Linked DNA regions of Homo sapiens: region 1 is linked to region 2. Evidence: promoter capture Hi-C in 16 types of primary human blood cells and fetal thymus (Javierre and others, 2016). All regions are on one chromosome and are shown on one strand. The core of a region is centred on a gene start or on the middle of the fragment in contact, and the rest is flanking DNA. Distances in the headings are between cores, read along the strand shown.

Evidence for each region. The method cuts DNA at HindIII sites, captures the fragments that hold promoters and counts their contacts. A CHiCAGO score of 5 or more calls a contact.
Region 1: a contact is called between a fragment that was not itself captured here and the fragment with the promoter of TBK1 in region 2, in 3 of 17 cell types (non-activated CD4 T cells, total CD8 T cells and neutrophils). The highest score is 9.4, in non-activated CD4 T cells.

The regions. Positions count from the first base shown.
Region 1 is chr12:64,791,782-64,795,174 of GRCh38, reverse strand. It overlaps a transcript of TBC1D30 not described here. Among named protein-coding and RNA genes, the nearest start is that of TBC1D30, 31 kb to the left of the region's middle. The HindIII fragment of the contact is 2,809 bases long and covers 150-2,958 here.
Region 2 is chr12:64,450,400-64,453,909 of GRCh38, reverse strand. TBK1 (TANK binding kinase 1) reads right to left here and starts at 1,790. Exons shown (of 21, transcript NM_013254.4): 1 at 1,723-1,790. XPOT (exportin for tRNA) reads right to left here. Exons shown (of 25, transcript NM_007235.6): 25 at 2,785-3,510. RefSeq lists a silencer at 1,450-1,919. The HindIII fragment of the contact is 9,573 bases long and covers 1-3,252 here.

The DNA of each region.
Region 1 (3,393 bases), core at 305-2,804, 340 kb before region 2:
CCACAACAAAGGGCCCATCCACATGGCACTTCAATGAAGCTCAAAGTCAATAAGCCCTGCCAGGGAGCCCAGAGTTCAAGTCAGCATTTAGACTCCCACACTTACTTATGAGCAGACAGCCAAAGAATACCAGACATCTAAGGAAAGCTTCTAAATATAATACAGTTTTGAAAGTTTCTTTCCTCCCTGTATAATCTTATCTCTTCCAAATTGTTTTCTTTTGTCTGTTTTAGTCTCTATCATAATATCTTTAGAGCAATAAGAAAATATATTGCATCTATGAAACAAGAACAGGATACCATATAAAAGAAACATTCAAATAGCAACCCAAAAAGATTTCTCAATAACAGGACTGGAAAATAAAGTTGAGGTAATCTCCAAGGAAATAAATCAAAAGAACAAGGAGTTGGAAAGCGAGAAAGAGAGAAAACGTTACAGCCAGGTGCAGTGGCTCACACCTGTAATCCTGGCACTTTGGGAGGCCGAGATAGGGGGATCACTTGATTGAGCCCAGGAGTTTGAGATCAGCCTGGGCAATGTGGTTGAAACCCCATCTCTACAAAAAATACAAAAATTAGCCAGATGTGGTAGTGTGCACCTCCCAGCTACTCAGGAAGCTGACATGGGAGGATCACCTGAGCCCCAGGAGGTCAAGGCTGCAGTGAGCCACGATTGCACCACTGCACTCCAACATGGGCAACAGACGAGACCCTGTCTCAAAAAAAAAAGAAAGAACATTACAGAACTTGTCTATAAGTTCCAACAGCCAAACAATAGAACCCCAGAAAGAGGAAAAAGAAAAAAGAAAAAGGAGGGAGAAAAATCAACAAAGAAATAATTCAGAGAAAATTTCCAGAACTGAATGACAAAAGTTGCCTGATTGAAAGAGCCTGTCTAGGCCCAGTGACAATGACCTGAGTGAAAACAGACCCACTCCAAGCAACATGATTGTTGTATTTCAGGAACACCAAGAACAAGGAGAACAGTCCACAAGCTCTTAAAGGGAAAAAAAATAAACAGTCCAGGATAAAGTGTCAGGCATCAGAAAGGCTTCAGCCTTCTCAAGAGCAACAAGACAAGTGAGAAGGCAATACAGCAAGTATAGAATAGTCGATCAAAGCGCATATATTTAGAATCAAGACATTTGACATTTTCACCCGTGCACAGTTACCAAAAACTTACTTCACAAGCACTCTCTCTCAAGGGGATATGGGAAACAAAATAAAAAGAATAATCAAGAAAGAAATATAAGATCCAGGATACAAGAGATCCACCACAGGAGAGAGACAAAGAAAGCCTCCACAATGAGGCTCCCAGGATGGCAGTGCATGCAGATGGAGCCCAGCCAGTAGGGAGTGGAGCAGCGTGGCTCAATCAACAGTCGTGTGAGGGAAGTCAACACAAGAGGCTTCCTGCTGCCGGACCATCTTTCTAACTGAAGGACAGAATGCCCAGGAGAACTCATCCATATTTTCATCTGTACTTGTGGTTTTTATTTGTGTTTTTGTTTTTTAGAGATGGAGTCTTGCTCTGTTGCCCAGGCTGGAGTGCAGTGGTGCAATCTTGGCTCATTGCAACCTCCGCCTCCCAGGTTTTAAGCAATTCTCCTGCCTCAGCCTCCAGAGTAGCTGGGATTACAGGTGCGTGCCACCACGCCCAGCTAATTCTTTTTTTTTTTTTTTTTTGTATTTTTGGTAGAGACGGGGTTTCACCATGTTGGCCAGGATGGTCTTGAACTCCTGACTTCATGATCCTCTTGCCTCAGCCTCCCAAAGTGCTGGGATTACACGCATGAGCCATTGCGCCCTGCCTATTTTTATTTTTTATTTTTTGAGTCAGTATCTCACTCTGTCACCCAGGTGGGAGGGTAGTGGCACAATCTCAGCTCACTGCAACCTCTGCTTCCCAGGCTCATGTGATTATCATGCCTCAGCCTCCCGAGTAGCTGGGACTACAGATGCATGCCACAACGCCCAGCGAATTTTTGTTTATTTTTTTTAGTGATGAGGTCTTACTATGTTGCCTAGGCTGGTCTCCCACTCGCAAGCTCAAGCAATCCCTCCTGCTTCAGCCTCCCAAAGTAATAGGATTACAGGTGTGAGACCCCACACCCAGCGAGCTTGCTCTTTATTTTTTATTCAAAGCTCACCATGGCCTTGCTCCTGCTCCTAGAAGTAGGCCAAAGCACAATACTTCTGTGGGCATGGAGGGGAGAGCATGGAAAGGCCTTGCTGAGCTTTGAATCAAAAACAAAAAGCAAGCCTCTCCCCCAACCTAGTTGATTATTCCATAACTAGCCTAGGCTGGGCATAGTAGTTCATGCCTGTAATCCCAGCACTTTGGGAGGCCAAGGCAGGTGCATCATTTGAGGTCATGGGTTTAAGACCAGCCTGGCCAACATGGTGAAACCCCATCTCTACTAAAAATTAAAAAAAAATTAGCTGGGTGTGGTGGCACACACCTGTAATCCCTGCTACTTGGGGAGGCTGAAGCAAGAAAATCGCTTGAACTCGGGAGACAGAGGTTGCAGTGAGCCAACATCGCACCACTGCACTCCGGCCTGGGCAACACAGCAAGATTCCATCTCAAAAATAAATAAATAAATAATAACTAGCCTAAAGCATAGCCTGGCAGAAGTCACAGGGCTCGTTTATAACCTTGCCCTTTGACTTCCCCAGAAGGGAACCTAAAACCAGGTTGGGACCCAGAGACAGTATAGTTTATCTTCTGAAAGGTTTTATCTAAGATAGCAACATTACCCTTTCCCCACATAACAAGGCTTGGGCTTGCTACTCTGTTTTTCAGAACCATATATTGCTTAGGAACCTATACAGGAAGTGGAGAAAGTATAAAGAAAAGCAAGGTAATGGTTAACACAAATGTGGGGGAGAGAGATTTCAGCCAGGAAGGAGCACACAGGGAGCTTTTAACATGCCAGTGATATTTGTTACTCAAGCTTGACAGGTGAATATCCACATGTATACACCTTTGTTTACTTATTCTTTAAAAAATACATATATGTATTACATTCTCTTGTTTATGATACATTCTATAATAAAAGATATTTTAAGTAGTAAGTGAATTCCTGTTTAAAATCAGTGAAATTGTTTTAACATCTTGAAAAACTAAAGGAACACCCAAAATATTCTTAATAATTTTATGCCTGCAAATGTGAAAAGTTATGGCAAATTCTGTATAATACACCAGGGATGACACAAGAAGAAACAGAAGATACAAATAATCCTGTAGTTATTTTAAAAGCTGGATCGATAATTTAAAACCTTCCTACAGGCCAAGTACGTTAGCTTACGCCTTATAATCCCAGCACTTTGGGAGGCTGAAGCAGGAGGATCACTTGAGCTCAGGAGTTTGAGACCAGCCTGAGTAGTATAG
Region 2 (3,510 bases), core at 541-3,040:
TAAGGATAGTTTCTCCAACCTCCAAGTATAAATATATAAACGTACCAAGTAGCCTGTATTATCAAGTCTTTAATACTGAAAAGCTATGGATCTATCAAGGTATACAAAGTATCCAAGCTCCACACTGGACTAAAATTGATGTATGCTAACATAACATAAACACTAGTCCCACCATGCCCCCTTAAACCTGCTGTATTGTCATTAAAACATGGATTTTAATATCCCTCCACAGTAAGTTAAAGCAAAAAGTAGTATGCTAGACTAGGTATTCTGTGATGAATTAATGACCACCAATATCCCCAAGCTGGGTTAGGAAAATGCAGAATGGTCAGGGGTCTCAATTTTACCAATCACTGATATAGTAGGATATTTTTATATAATTTTACTACCCATCTAATTTAGATAAACTTTATATACGACTATAGGAAATAAGCAATAAAAATAAGATTCCCTTTTCACAAATAAGGAATACACATTTGCCAGTCATTACATTTCACTCACGATACAATAACAAACGTCTCAACTATCTAACGAAAAACCTTCCCTAATCAATGTAACTGTAAATGGCAAATAGTACCATTAGGTACCTATATGTATGTACCTTCAGGATAATAAGAAAAATATTTATCAGCTAAGATATCTGTTCTCTATGCAAATACAAAACTATGGTTTCTATTTAACAGTAATCACAATAGTGGTCAGGGGAAATGTCTTTTGAAATTATCTTCCAATAACTCCACAATAACATGTTAAAACATGACTCAGCACACCCACAACGTGCTTGCCATATAAATCTTCCCAAATTTTTGACAAGCATATAAGCAGACACTCAACAACTATGTTGCTGATGATGCCGTCTTCAGCCTACTTCCTTACACCGTCCAAAACGAAAGTTACTATTTGTTGAGGGATGAAAACAGGTTTGACGACATGGCCTATGGACAAAGTTCCAGGATTTCTAAACTCTGCCCCTATGTGATTCATACACTGGGGTTTCAGAGTGGAAAAGACCAGTCTTTGGTTATACATTTGGCAATTACTTGGGAGTTGTTTTGAGGCCACCTACTAAGAATACTTGGGATAGAGATTACAAATTAAACCCATAAGCCAGGTAGACGAGGAGCAAGGAAATGTCTGGGAATTCGTATTTCATCGGCATATATTTAAAACATCTTATGCTTCTAATTTCCGGTGTGAGTCAACCTCTGCGGACTGAACATCACTAAAACTCTAAGGAAACGTCTCTTTTTAATCCTCTGAAAAATCAATACATTTAAAAACTGCCCGTTGTGTCGACGCTCGGAAAGAGGGTAGAAAACAGCGAGTCTAAGGGAAAGAGGTGCCCCTGCCTCCCCAGGCAGCCAGGGCCCAGGCCCGGTAACGGAGTCGTCCTCTTTATGCCCAAAGCCGCCGGACGGGATGCAGGTCGAGGACCGGCCGCGCGGCGCGGAGCGGGGATGCAGGTAACAGGGCCCGCGCGACCATTCCACCGGCTACGGCCACCCGACACACACCCCAGAGGCAGTGTCCACGCAGCCGGGGTCCTGGATGGCTTGGCCTCGGGTCGTCCGGGGCTTCTCGGTGCGCCCGCCCCCGCCCCCGCTCTGACTCAGCATCCCAGCCTCCCACAGGGGGCGGGAGCGCTCCCCGCCGGGCGGCGCAGGCCTGACCGACCGCGCCCCGCGCCGCCTTGGCCCCTCAGCCCGCGGCCGTCTCACTTACCCAGCCGGGTCTCCGCCGCGCCACCGCCGGCGGGCTCCCGCGGCCTCCTCGAGACTCAGGACACTTCCGGCTTCGCAAGCCCTGGCCGGAGGCCACGTGACCGACGGCCGGCGCGCCGGTGCGGGTGCGCGTGCGCACGCCTATGGCCCGTCTGGTAGTCACCACAGCCGCGGCGGCAACTGCCGAGTCGGCTTCCGCGGCCACGGTAATGAGGGGGATGTCTGGAGACACCCCGTCCACTGTTGCCCTCGCCCTTTACTCTAAAGGGGAATGAGGAGCCCTGAGCAGCGAACACAGTAATTGGGATTCCCGCAACTGCAAATCCCGCCCCTTCCCCGAGCGCTGGCCGACAGTAGGGCGGACCGACGCTGAGCAAGGGATTACATCCCAAGATTTACAGGTGTGCAGAACGTGGGACACGTGGGGGGCAGGCACAGACGGCCGGCAGAGCTGGGAGGGATGGATTCTATGTTTTAAGGGCCCACTTTGGCTGCAGTGGAGCCAGATTATCGTCTCGCAGTAATTCAGACTTTACATTGTTTTTTTCATTTTCCCATCACCCAGAAATACATTAAATTCTTAATGTAAAAATGTTCATTTAATTCCCTCTCGGTATTTTGGAAAACGGCCGTATTGGAGTATCTAACTCTAAACTTAAGAATTTAAGAACTAAAACTTAAATACTAAAATTAGGTCCTGCAATATTCGTGCAGTCAAAATCTCAAGCCGCTATTCCCAATAAGGAATAGCTTTCTGAAGGGGTCCCTTCTGCCCACGGACAGCACAACAGGCCTTTCTCAACATGAGGGAGCAGAGACCGCTGCTAATCTAGGGCTAAATTTCTGAGTGGAGGGGAAGAGGAAGATGGTGTTTCCCAGAGTAGCAGCAGCAAACACGAATGAATGGGAAGTCATGCGGAGTGGCTCAGAGGCTTTTGAATGTAACAGACCTAGGGTTGCTGTCTCGGCTGCCAATTACTGACTTAAAAGCTAATCTCTTACCTCTCTAAGCCTCAGTTTTATCAAATGCACAATGGAGATAACAAAAGTCCACTCTAATGAATTCTTACAAAGCAAGTTACTTTATTAGCATTTTAAACAATGTATAAGTGATGGAATCATTCTAACAACACATCTATTCACTGCTTACAATTCCAACTAATTTCAGTTCTTTGATATCTAATGACAAGAGCGAAGACCTGTTAAAGTTCCTTCCACCAGTAAAACTCACAGCTCAAAGTTGTGGGAGTGATTAACTGAGCCACAGGCCTTCATTCACATGTTTACCACATTAAAATACCACACAGTGTTTTCTTATAAGGTCAACCAACTGGGAAGCAATTAACATTAGCATTAAGATTTAAACTGTTAGGCACAGGGCTAAATCAGGCATTATATGAAAACTTGTGGTTCCCTAGTCAAGTCAAACAAATCCCCAAATATTTCAGCTTGTAACAGTTTTGTCCTTCCTCTCTTGAGACAATTATTTGAGTACTTGCTTTTGGAAATAAGGTAATTCATGATGGAAGCTTCCTAGCTGTGATGGTGCTCTAGGCAACTTCAGAGAATGAAGATAGAAGTTATGCATGATTATATAACATGAAGAGTTTAATTTTTATTACACACTCAATTTCCATGCCCTGATTTCTCTTAGCTCTATAAACACATGTAAATCTTCTGCAGAGCTTTAAAGAGCTCTGAAAGGGAAAACACCTTTCCATATATGGAATTGATAGCATAGTAAGGCCGTGTGCAGTGGCTTATACCTGTAATCCCAACATTGTGAGGC